3 separate regions of the Homo sapiens genome follow, and all the other regions are linked to region 1. The links are contacts of gene promoters, found by promoter capture Hi-C in blood cells and fetal thymus (Javierre and others, 2016). All regions are on one chromosome and are shown on one strand. The core of a region is centred on a gene start or on the middle of the fragment in contact, and the rest is flanking DNA. Distances in the headings are between cores, read along the strand shown.

Region 1 (4,124 bases), core at 893-3,392:
GACCATCCTATTCTCTTACAAAGCATTATGCAGGCAGCTTCTCTGAGAGACTTCCGATATTCACTTATAAGCACATCCAGGCAAATGCTGACCCCCGTGGAGAAACAAAATAGAGACAAAACTGCAATTTTCAAGTCCGAGGGACTGCACTTTTGCAAACAGGTCCCAGGGCTTCAGCTAAGAGAAAACAGCCTCGGCCCCAGCAGCAGCCCCTCTCGTGGACCGCAGAGGAATGCCGAAAGCAAAACAGCTATCATAGCTGCTCCTTAGCCAAGCAGGCAAGATTCATCCACGTTAAGCCCAATGCCATTCTCTAGGCTGAACCAAAGCCGAACGCTGACGGAGATCTCCAATAGAAGGTTTTCTTCAAGTCGAAGGTGTTGGTAAATATTTTGGGTCACTTAAGGGCATCTCAAAGGAAGCCGACACTGACTTTTTCCATGCAAATAAAATACATCGAACATCAAGTTGACATGCCAGGTTTGCTCCTAACTGCAACCTTACCAAGACAGTGAAAGCCGAAAAGTTATAGTTGTATTTTTCTACTGCATTCTGCCTGTCTGTGCGATTTGTTTGTTAAGGAAATGGGGAGAGATTTTCTAAAGCAAAAGCTACCTGTTCCCAAATCATGGGTCTTGATTTTAAAAGGTTTGGAGAACTGAGATTTCAAAAGCACATGAAGGCTGCTCGTGACTGTTCCCGGGGTTCATCTGAGCCTTTAGGATTTTCTCCACTGCTTGCATGGGGTGGGGGGAGGGGAGGAATTGTCATTTTAGGATACGCTTTCTATAGAACCAACATGTAGCCACACCAAGGTGGGTAGAAAGCTTTCCAAACTCCAGCGAAGACAGACAATACCTGACTATTTTGCTTTTCCCACTCACTAGGATTGGGCGACAGCTGAGCTGGTTCAGCAGGGAGTCCAGCTCCCCGGTGCCCAGGCAATGGCTCTGGACAGCACCGCGTTCCAGGCTCCCCGGCGCGTCCTGGACTGCTTGGCCGCGGCTACCCTCTCCCGCCCGCCTTGGGGTCAGGGCGCTGGAGTAGACCGCGTTTGCAGGAGGCGCGCAGCGGGCTGCTCTTTGGCCAAGAGGAGGCCATTTGGCGAGGGTGGGTAGCTTGGGGAGGGCAGTGTGAAAGCAGGGGAGGGCCGCGGGGCGTGGGGAGGGGCTGCGGACAAGCCAGACAGCGCCGGCCGAGACATCTCCGGGGCCCGCAGGTGTCCCGGGAACGCACCACTGTGCGACCGCGGGCAGCAAGACACTGGAGAAGGGCTGCGTCGACGCCCCCGCCCAGCAAAACCCCTGGAGGAACTGGGACCTGGGGGGGATTTGGCCCAAGGCAGGGCGGGGAGGGGGCTCGATTCCTGCAGTCGCGTCCCCACCCGCCTCGAGAGGCTGAGTGCCCCGGTCTGTGGCCCCCGTGCGTCCCGAAAGGATCCGCAAGGAAGCTAAGGGTTTGGGGGAGAAGGCAGGCGGGCTCTCCCCAGGCGCTAGGCAAAGGGGAACGCGCCGGGGGCTCCTGGGTTCCCAGGGTCTCCCCAGGTCTGTCCAAGTCCGGGAGATGCGCGCTGCCAGGGACTTGAGAAGGAGGTAGCCGCCCGTTCACCCAACTTTGTGCGCCTCGGCCGGGGTCGGGGATGGGGTCCGGGGACGCGTTACCTGGGCACTGGAGCGCAGTCAGCGCCAGCAGGAGCCCGAGCGGCGGCGCCCGGCCCGGGGGCGGCATGGTCCTCGGCGCGCGGTGGGTGCGGCGCGGGGCTGCTCCTCTCGCGCGCCCGGCCCGGCCCGCGGCTCCCGGAGCAGCCCCCGGCGGCTACGCCCGGGCGCCGGGCATGGCTCGCTCCCAGCGCGCCGCTCCTCCCCAGACGCATGCGCCGGCGCTGGCGGCGCTTCCTCGGCTGCGCCTCTGCGCGCTCTCCTGGGCTCGGCCGTGCGTGGCTGGGGAGCTGGGGCGGCCGAGGCTCAGCGCCCCGCGCCCTGGCCGGCTGCCCCGCAGTTGGCCCGAGTTGCGCGGCCCCCGCCGCCGCCGCCGCCGCGGCTCCTGCGCCCCAGCGCCCGTCCCATCCCGGTCGCGCCGCCGCCGCCGCCGCCGCCTCTGCCATCGCCATCTGCCGGCCGCCCCTCGAGCCAGCGAGAGAGTGAGCGAGCGAGCGAGCGCCGGGGGGAGGAGGAGGAGGAGGAGGAGTAGGAGGAGGAGGAGGAGGAGAGGAGCGGAGGGCGGGGCCGCGGCCGGGGGAGGGGCCGCCCGGGAGCCGGGGCACAGGCGGCAGCCCGGCCAGTAGGCGGCGGGACGCGCCACTGCTCGGCGGTTCGGGGGAGGGCGCCCGGCCGGGAGGCTCCGGGAGCCCGCCGGGGGTCGCGGGCGCTCGCGGGTACAGGGGCTGCGGGAGGGGTGCGCAATGCAGAGAGGGGATGCCCAGCTAGATCCGGCGTCTTGGGGCGCAGCGGTAGGAGTTGCCAAGGTCGAGGGGTGAGGAGGCCAGCGGAGGGTCACCGGGATGGGGCAGCGACCTCTGGAGAGGTGGTGTCTGCCGGGGCCAGAGACTGCAAGACTGAGCGCGGACAGGAGGTCCCGGGTTAAATGTGGCACAGCTAGGGAGTGCCTGTGGGAGAGGGGAGAGGAGAGAGGGGAGGGCCTCCGGGAGGCCGAGGCTGTGTGCAGAGCCTCTGCACGGCACCGGGATGGGGGCTAGGGGTGCGCAGGCTGGGTGCGGTGACCTGAAACACAGCGAAGGCGGCCTGGGGATGGCCACCCGGGTGAGGCAGGGTCCCTTATTTACCCAGGCTAGAGGATGCGCCTTCCCATTTCGCGCAGGCCCTAGGAGCACGCGGAGGCAGCCAGGAGTTCTCCTGGGAAGGGCAGATTCCCTGGCGGTCCCGGGAATGAGTTCCCAGCGCAGGGTCAGGCAGTGACGGAGCGGAGGTGTTGCGCAGGGCCGGGTACTAGGTGGTCGAATTCTTCCATCCAGGGGCAGGGACGCAGCCAGAGTGCGGAGGGAGGTCACAGGTCACACGGAGCCCCAGTACCTATTATCCCAGAAACCACTGATCCTCCTGGGCGCCCCACCCCCAACCAGGGCAAAGCCACGGGGGGCTAAGCCGAATGAATGAGTCATGCTGGGAGCATGTGGGGGAGCCTCCAGCAGCGCTCAGATGCCTTCAAGCTTCCCCACCACGCTGGGAGGACAGGGGATATGGGGGGTTGCCCACCTGGGAGGGTGGCTTGGAGTCCTGGCTCCGCCCCAGCCCCCACCACACCAGCCACTTGCTCTGCCATCTCAGTTTTCCATGAAAAAGTGGGTCAAACTCTTTGAAAATGGTCAATAAGGCAGCGTGGGGTGATGAAAAGACAGATTTGGGGAAGGCTCTGGAGTCATGGAGTCTTGGCTGAGAATCCCAGCTCTGCCGCTCCTTAGCTGTGCAAGCTGGGGCGAGTCCCTTATTCCTCCCTGAGCCTCAGTTTTCTCATCTGAGAGATGGAAGGCATTGCACATCACCTGGTGTCCCCAATAACACATACAAAGCCCCTGACCTAGGAAGTCGGAACTCATTTAAAGGAGTCAGTGTCAACATTATCATTCTCATCATCATGGCCATTATTATGATAGATCTGATTTTCCTCTGCGGGCCCAGAGCTCACATCAGAAGGACAATCCTCCCCACTCCCGGCTGCCAAGAGGGGATGGGGGACAGGGCACCTGCTTGATTAGTACAGACAAGCTCATTAGCAGAGGCAGCACTCAGTTCTTCCTAGATAAAAGAAGGAAGAAAGCCAGGGGCAGGTGGTGAGTCTCCAGCCCAGGTTAATTAGGAGACGTAAAGGGATTTTCCCGTGGCTGTTAATCGGCTTCCTTTACAAGGGGCCCATGCCCAGGCCAAGCCCCCTTTGGGCTCCCTGGCAAGGCCTGCAATGTGTGGAGAGCCATACAACAGGCTGGACGACGGGATTGGGGGTCTCCTCGGGCTTAGGGTGGCCTTGCGAGGGGCCCATCTGTCCCCTTTCTGTGACCCTTTCCCCAGATAAGAGGATGATCCTGGAGACGTGGTCAGGACTCTCTTAGGGTCCTCTGTGCCCGGCTGCCCCCAACACCTCTTTCCTGTTCACTTGTTCATAAGCATCTG
Region 2 (4,124 bases), core at 692-3,191, 4.8 Mb before region 1:
CCTCCTTTGTGTCCAGACAGCCAGATGGACACAGGCCTGCCTTGGCTGCAGGGGCCACGACAGGTGTGGAGATGCCTGCGGGTGAGTGGACGGTGGGTGGGCTGCCTTGTCATTTTCCACGATCTCTGATTTGGGGAGAAAGTGGTCCTCCTTTGGGATTATTAGCACCTCCGCCTTTGAAACGCAGGCCGGCCTCACATGGGGCTCGCTTCCTGAGTCAGGTCTAGGAACCGTGGGGCTATGGGACCTCTGCCTCCTGTGTGACCCTTGTCATCCCTAACACCCATGAGCGTGGGCCCTTCAGCCAGCAGCCCACGTGCCCACACTCTGCTGTGCCCCCACTGAGCCCTGCACAGAGACGCCGTGCAAGCCACCTCCCCTGGGGTCCACTGAGGGTCCCCTGATGACAGCAGCCAGGATTTTGCTTGTGGAGCATCTACCAGGAGTGACACCCCAGCCTCTAGGAGTTTTAGCCAGTGCAGGCCACCCTAGCCTGTATCCTTCAATATCATGAGAGAAAAACATAAGCCCCAGAGAGCCAGATTCGAGGACTGGATGTGTGGGGATGGTGGGGGAGAGAATCCTTGTTCCAGAATTTGAGATGGTACCAAATGGAGCCAGCGCCCCATTCCCAGTGATCTGGGATGTCAGTAACCTCCCCAACTGCGCTAATTGTTAGTGTTCCCTGTATATCGTGTGTTAAAAGATAATTCTCAAAAAAGGTAAAATCGTGACTGTCATGCAGATTTACAAATGAATGCATGTTAATGATTACATTCTATTCTGCTCACTAGTAAATGATGAAACCCGACAGATGTTACCACCAGTTCTAAAGAGAATCCTAAGAACAGACACATTTATAGATCAGGAATGCTGAAATGTCTGCTCAAATGAAGGCAAGCTTGATTCTTTCAGAGGAAGGAGGTCAACTGGACGTCTACCGACCGTCCTCCTCTTATAGGATCTCTAGCCTTTATAGGATTTGCATTTCTATATGAATGATTTTTGCATTTCTGCCGGTTATCTTCAACTTAAAGATTTGTAATATAGCTCAAAGACAATGAAAGACTATAATCAGATGGGTGTCCTCTGTGACAAATAATAGTTTTCCATTGAAGCACAAACTTTTTTCTACATACAACAATTAGACAGCTAGTATTTAATAAATACTAAATTAATCCATGTGAACTTCTTAGGATAGATCCGAACTCATTTTCTGTCATAAAATTGCTGAACACAGAGCTGGCCTCATAGGTACTCAGGAAATAGTGAATTAACAAACAGATAAATGAATAAATGAATGGTGACCGTCCTTGACTTCCTGTCCAGCTCATGCTGACTTCCAGATGACCAGTTAGTTGTTACCAAGACTAATGAAGCCATCTCCAAGAGGACAAGGAGCCTTTCATAGAAACACAGCCTAGGGATGTAGAGGAAGAATAAACTATGCATTTATTGAAAATATTTCAGAGATGGTTAAGGCTAATGAACACTGCTGGCTGTTGCCCAAAGCCCCTTGGCCTGCATTGCTGACATTTGCTGATAATTAATACTTTATCAAATAAGGAAGTGAACAACTTTTTAAAAAGTTTCTGAGTATATTCACTATTAGTTACTGTCCACACACGGCAACATGGCTCTGGAGTTTCTGTGCCAAGTCAGACATCCTGATTTTTTTAAATGAACTTTATTGATGTATAGCTTATATACAATAAATCTCACCTACTTCAGGTGAGTCTCACCTGAACTCATTAATTGCAATGATTTCATGAGTTTTGATTAACATATACAACTCAGGTAACCATCCTAATAAAGACATAGAAGAACATTAGCATCACCCTTAAAGTTCTCTGTGCCCCTCCATCACCCCCGTTCCCAACTGTAGATAACTCCCTATCTCTTTTCTGCCATTATAGATTAGATTTGCCTTTGCCAGAATTTTAAATACATGACATCATAGAATACACACCCACTTCTTGGTCTGGTATCTTTTGCTCAGAATAATGTTTGGGGCTCCATCGATGTTGGTGTATGTCACTTCTTTCTTTGTTTACGCTGCCCCAAGTAGACAACTTTGGCATGACTTAGCTCCCATTGATGAAGTCACTTGAAGATGTCACTTATTCGGTTTTATGTTAATTTTCCCTGCAGACATGCTACAGGCAGCTCCCCTTGGCCAAGCTCATGAACTCCGGAGGGACTAGAGTATACAATCTGCACAGAGAAGTTCTTGTCTGGCTCCGAGTGTCCGTATCGCGTGGCTGTATCATTTCAGAAAGCGTATTCAAGGAGCGGTAAATCCAGCATTTATTCTAATTCCTTCACATTTTATGGCAGGGCTGAACCAACCATAAAACAGATTGACAGATATAGGGAGAACGAAATCCTGTATTTTACAAGCTAACGACTTTATTTCATTTCATGTCAACGCCAAGGGTTGATGAATGGTTCTGGAATTTCTGAACTGAGACGTTCCCCCCAGCTCCAGAGATGGAGCATTGCGAGAGCAATGGTAGGAGTCCCAGCCCAAGCCATCTAATCTCCCCAAATTACTCCCTATTCATTTTTCTTTGAGATGGTTTATTTAATGAAGGCTGGATACTCAGGTCTCCGGCTCTGCAGTGCCACCTAGAGGCTAAGCTGCTCCAGGTAAGTTATACGAGGATGAGACGAGTTGCTCTGAAACCTCAACTTCTTGTAGGATGAGTTTAGATATGAAATTAACTTATATGACAAATATTTACCCAGCACCAATTATACCCGGGGGACTGAACTAAATGCTTAACCTCCAAAGATGCATTGCACCTGAAGGGCTAAAAGTGCAGCCAGAAATCTTTACTTTTACAAAGGAGATGAGAAGCATCTTGATTGGAAGCTGTGGTTTGCAAGTAACAGAAAGTACACGCCATCGCCCCCTCAAGTTATTCTATGGGTTCAATAGAATCCTAGTGAAAATCCATTGAGGAAATGGATAAGCTTACTTTAAAAGTTGTGTGGCTTGAGCCCAGGAGTTTGAGACCAACCTGGGCAACATCAGGAAACCCTACTTCTACAAAAAAACAAAAAACAAAAAAATTAGACAGGTGTGGTGCCACGTGCATGTAGTCCCAGCTGCTCAGGAGGCTGAGGCAGGAGGGTCGCCTGAGCCTGGGAGTCCGAGGCTGCAGTGAGCCATGACCCCACCACTGCACTCCAGCTTGGGCAACAGAGCAAGACCCTGTCTCAAAAACAAAAACAAAAATGCATGGAAGAATACACGTCCACAGATGACCAAGGAAGAGTAAACAGGGTGAGGAGAGGGCGTTGAAAGGAGAGACACAGTGAGGGGAAGCAGTGAGAGGCCTAAGATGAAATATTAAACTATTACCCTGCCATACGATGCAAATCCCTTTCTTATTTCTCCCTCAAATTGCCCTTAAAACACCATTTCCGTGTTAATCTTTCTGGAGTTGGTTTTTACTTCTCGGGAAGTAGGTGGGTAGGGGATTAAGGTTATGATAAAGCTCTGAACCTGGTCTCAAGGTGGTGTCTTTGAGACCAGCTTTTGAATTTTTTAAATTGTAAATTAAAAACAAAACCAAAAACACACAAAAAGCAACTTCTCCTTTAATCTTCCATGTTCATTTTACAAACCTCATTAGTCTACATGTGAATCTAGCCAACTTTCACATTATGCTTGAAGAAAACATTAGCAACTTTGTTAATTAACTTTCATCAAATGTTTTCAACAGCATATGTTAATGGAATAATCTCATCTTTCAAAAACACTTCCGTTTTTCTTACTACTTAACATACTTAACTCTTAAAAGTTGAATAAATCTTAAATTCTGTTAAACATCTCAAATCATGTAACCAGTTTTAAACTTCACATTTTCTTAAACTTTTCAGCTTAAAATTACTAACCCCAAATCAAATGCTCACTCACATATTTTCAGCTGGAGTCAGAAGACTATTGTCAGAAACTCTATACCAAATATAGAGCTGTTCGTTCATTATTTCTTTCTCTTTCTTTTTCTTTTTTTTTTTTTTTTTTTTTGAGACAGAGTCTCGCTCTTTTGCCCAGGCTGGAATACAATGGCATGATCTCAGCTCATGGCAACCTCCGCCTCCCGGGTTCAAATGAT
Region 3 (4,124 bases), core at 538-3,037, 4.7 Mb before region 1:
TTACTTGAGGAAATTAGGGGGCTTTTATTAAGAGAAAAAATTGAGTTCCTCTAAACCAGAAGTAGCCACAACCCTTTTATTTCAATTCATGTGCTCACTCCCCAAAGCACCCTTTAATAACGTCTAAATTGGGCCATTGACACTATCCTCAGACTTCAGCTTTGAAGCTGGTGTATACATTGACAAGCAACAGCATCTTGCGTGTTTACGTTCTCTTTGATGTTGGCAAACTCAACAAATTGCTGGATAAACCCTTTCCCTTGTTGGCCACTAAGAGCTCCTCTAGGGCAGGATTAACTCCCTGTGTATCCATTTCATAGACACTTTTTAATTTTCCTTTTTGGTACAGTAGCAGAGGAGCTATTTTCTTCAACAATAATCGTGGGATGTGTACGTCTGAACTGAAGATCTCTGCAATGGGTTAATTGATTCCCTGACAAAGGCCTCTGTCATCTAAGAACCCAGCCCTTCAAGTCCATTAGACACATTGATTTTAAGCGGACAAAAGAAATCAAATCGTTTGGATGCTTAGCTCCGAGAAGTAAATTGATCTTTTTGATGCACGTCAAATGGACTCATTACGGGCTCGTGCTGCAGGCCACATGATTGCCAGTTTTCTCTTTTGTTTGAGGTCAAGTCCTCTTGGAGGGATGGACAGGGACTGAGTCTGTTCCTGGGGAGGCCGATCTCTGGTGGGACACCCCCTCTTCCTTCTTATTGTGTGCTGTTAGCCGAGCCCCCATAAAGGGAAGGCCCACACCCTGCAAGTGGGCTGCAGAGTGCCAGTTCTCAGTGATCACAGAGGGAGACACCCTAAACAGAGCTCACAGCTGCTCACACAAACCACGTGCTGGCAGATGGATTTCCAAGTCCGGCCTGGACCTCAGTGTCAGTCAACCCCACCACCTCATTTTCTCCATCCTAGAAAACCCCACCGGCCCAGCACAGGGCATGTTCTGAAACCGCAGGGTCGGGACTTGCTAGATGAGAAATTAATACAGGCGTTCTTGAGAAAGAAGAGAGAGACCAAACATCAGAGTGGAAAGGAGACACAGGTTCAGCATTCCAGGGGCCACTACACACTCATAGCTCTGAACGCCGACAGGATGCCCCGGCATGTTGTGCTGTCTCTGAGCTGTGCGGGTCTTGTCTGGCCGGCCTCCCTGGGCTGGGCCTGCGATTGTTCCTGCAGCCACCTGCCTGGCACACGCAGAGGCCTCTGGATTTGGCCCAGTGGGAAGCAGAACAGGGGCCCCGTGGAAGGGATGGGAGTCTGGCATGCTACATTTTACCAGACGCACCTGTGCCTAGCCCCTGCCTCTGTGGTACTATTGGTACGCCAAGAGATCTTCCGAAAATGTGAATGGGCTCCTACAACTTCCCCGCTTGAAGCTTCACTCTGGCTTCCTGAGTCCTGACGAGGCCCCTGCATCCTCTGTCTCCTGCGCCTCCCCTGTACCTCCCCTCCCACCATGCTCTCCCTGGCTCACTAAGTTCAGCCACATGGGGCTTTCTGCTCCTCCACCCTTTGTGATGCCTCATGGCCTTTGCACCTGCTGTCCCAGCCACCAGGCAGGTGTATGACCCGGGTCTGCACTCTGAGGATCCTTCTCATGAGAGAGATTACGCTGCTCCAAGAAGCCTTTCTCGACCTCTCCAAAGGGCAAGTCATTATGATACTTGAGTTCTTCACAGGTTCTTCCTGAAAGCATCTTGTTCTTTGGTGTGCTTGTTTCCTGTCTGTCCCCATGGGAATAAATTTCGTGAACGGCTTGTTCACTGTGAAGCCTCTAGGGCCTGGCCAGCGGTACACCCTGAATAAATAAGTATTGAATGGAAGGAGGAATCCATATAAATCCCATTCCTCAGACTGCTCCAGCCCAGGAGGACCCTCTCTTGGAACCGATGATACTTGTTCTCTGCAATATTCTTTGAAGACCCTAAGAGATCGAATTCCAGCTCTCCAAGGGCATCCTTTGCCTTCTCCCTGGTGCCTGGTAGAGGGGACAGAGCACCTCATGCGTCCAAGAGATCGAATTCCAGCTCTCCAAGGGCATCCTTTGCCTTTTCCCTAGTTCCTGGTACAGGGGACAGAGCACCTCATGCATTCATTAGCTGGTGGTGGTTGGTGGTTCCTCCCTCCTTTGGACTCTCTTCATACTGTAAAATGGGCCAAAGCTTCGCTGTAGTCTCAGGAGCTGATAGAGGTGTTTCCTTATATCCCACTCCTGCTTCTGTTGGCAGTGATGAGATCAATACACCCTGTATTGCCTGGAATGGTTCATTCTAACAAACAAAGCCCTGAACCTCCATGACTTAACACCATGTCATCTTATTTCTTGCTCACCCAAAATTCCATGCAAAAGAAGTGGCATTCCACATTTTCGGAACCAGACTCATTCCAACTTGCAACTCTGCCATTGCTGAAGGCTTGGGGGTTCTCCCTTGAATTTTTGCATTCAGCTTGAAAAGGCAGGAAGAGAGTTTGAGGGTTTCACAGGCTCCCAAACTCTCCCCCTGAAAGGGAGGCACATCCCTTCCTCCCAGGTTCTTTTGGACATAACCATAGCGACAGTTAACCTTAGGAAGGCCAGGGCATGTGGTCTGGCTGTGTCTCCAGCAGGTAGAGGAAGCAGGGGTGAGGGAACATGCTTCTGTCACAGGTTCCAGTGCATGCAAAATCCAGGCAGTCTTTACAACAAAGGGTTTCCTGCAGAGGCAGCCTTGCAGCTTCTCCTTGACCTCACCCCTGACCGAGAAACACTCAGGGACTAATCAGGCTAGAGGTACAAATACATAATTTGTACCAAGAAGTCCAGCATGTGACTTCAAAGAAGACTATTCAAGGCCTGCTGACCTTTCTGTATTGATCCATAAATCAGTAACTTAAGGAAAATGCAGCAGTATCCTATTGGTCTTTGCAGAAGAGGCTGCTCTGCGAGGTTCACCTGGCAGTTACCTGGTGACACCATGGGTCACCTGGGAGAGCACGAATATTCCAACTTTTTAACATCTGCTTGTGGAGCTCTGGGAAGAGATGAGAAAGGGAGAAGGACAGAGAGAGGAGAGTAAAAGTAGGTCTGGATTTTAGTATGGTTAACCTGGAAGAACCAAGAAGTTTGATGATTTAACACAATAAAAATTAATTTCTTTTACCATACTTCTTAATGTGGATTGACGGGGGACTTTGCTCTCTCATCAACTTGCTGGACTGCTGGCTGGAAGGCTCACCTTGTAGCAGCTGCACCATCTCAAACACAGGGTCCACTCTTCTCCCAGGGCAGGGCAGGTGCAGAATGAGGAGTCACAGGTGAGCTTTTCACTGCCCCACCAGAGAAATGACCCCCATGACTTCTGCTCACATTTAGTTGGTCAACTGCAAGGGGCTGAGAAGAGTAGTCATCCATGCGCTGGGAAGGAGAGAGTGACAGGTCTTGGCAAACACACACCTTCCTCAAGGGCACAGCATGGATTCCGCTGAGGTGCTCCTTCTGGAAGGATGATCTCCTGCTGGCCTTACCAGGAAGGGTGTGCAATGTTCCCAGTGTTTACAGTGCCCTCAACATCAGAAGGCTTTCCCCACTAGTGAAAGAGACAGTTGATTGAACCAGGCCTTTCTATTTCCCAGTCATTTCATGAATTTTGGAAAACTGGGAAGACAGGGAGTTTCAAAAAGTCTCTTCTGCATCTTCAGGAGGGATTGATCTGGTAGCTCTCACTTCATGCTAAGGTTTCCCAAACTTCATTTCTCACCATCTTCCGGAGTATTGTCATAGAGAGAAGACGGTGCCTGCACCCGTGTCAGTAGTGATTGCTAAATCCATTACTCATTTCCCATCTTCATAAACATACATAACTTGATATTTTTTAAACAAAATGCATCACCAAGTAAAAGGAGAGAAAACAAAAATAATAATAATCAAAATAAAAACAAATCGATGTTAGTAACTTGAGCTAGATGTTGTCATTGTGCAGAAAGAGCTTCCTTTTTTGTTTAAAAAACATGGACATTTGCAATTACTAAAAGGCTGTTCCGGAGTAGCTCAGGCCTGAGCCTTTCTCCTGGATGCAGTCAGAAGGACTGGAAGAGAATGGCTTCAGTTTTACAGGAGGCCCCATCTTTA

Evidence for each region. Contacts are between HindIII fragments. The CHiCAGO score rates a contact against its expected background, and 5 or more counts as called.
Region 2: a contact is called between a fragment that was not itself captured here and the fragment with the promoter of TMEM132B in region 1, in 2 of 17 cell types (naive CD4 T cells and total CD4 T cells). The highest score is 5.2, in naive CD4 T cells.
Region 3: a fragment that was not itself captured here is called in contact with the fragment with the promoter of TMEM132B in region 1 in 2 of 17 cell types (total B cells and naive B cells); the score reaches 5.4 in total B cells.

The regions. Positions count from the first base shown.
Region 1 is chr12:125,184,404-125,188,527 of GRCh38, reverse strand. TMEM132B (transmembrane protein 132B) reads right to left here and starts at 2,142. Exons shown (of 9, transcript NM_001366854.1): 1 at 1,662-2,142. The coding sequence starts at 1,728. RefSeq lists a silencer at 2,150-2,359 and an enhancer at 2,408-2,941. The HindIII fragment of the contact is 2,339 bases long and covers 830-3,168 here.
Region 2 is chr12:130,025,282-130,029,405 of GRCh38, reverse strand. No RefSeq gene overlaps it. Among named protein-coding and RNA genes, the nearest start is that of LINC02418, 15 kb to the left of the region's middle. The HindIII fragment of the contact is 2,075 bases long and covers 904-2,978 here.
Region 3 is chr12:129,906,512-129,910,635 of GRCh38, reverse strand. No RefSeq gene overlaps it. Among named protein-coding and RNA genes, the nearest start is that of TMEM132D, 4.5 kb to the right of the region's middle. The HindIII fragment of the contact is 786 bases long and covers 1,395-2,180 here.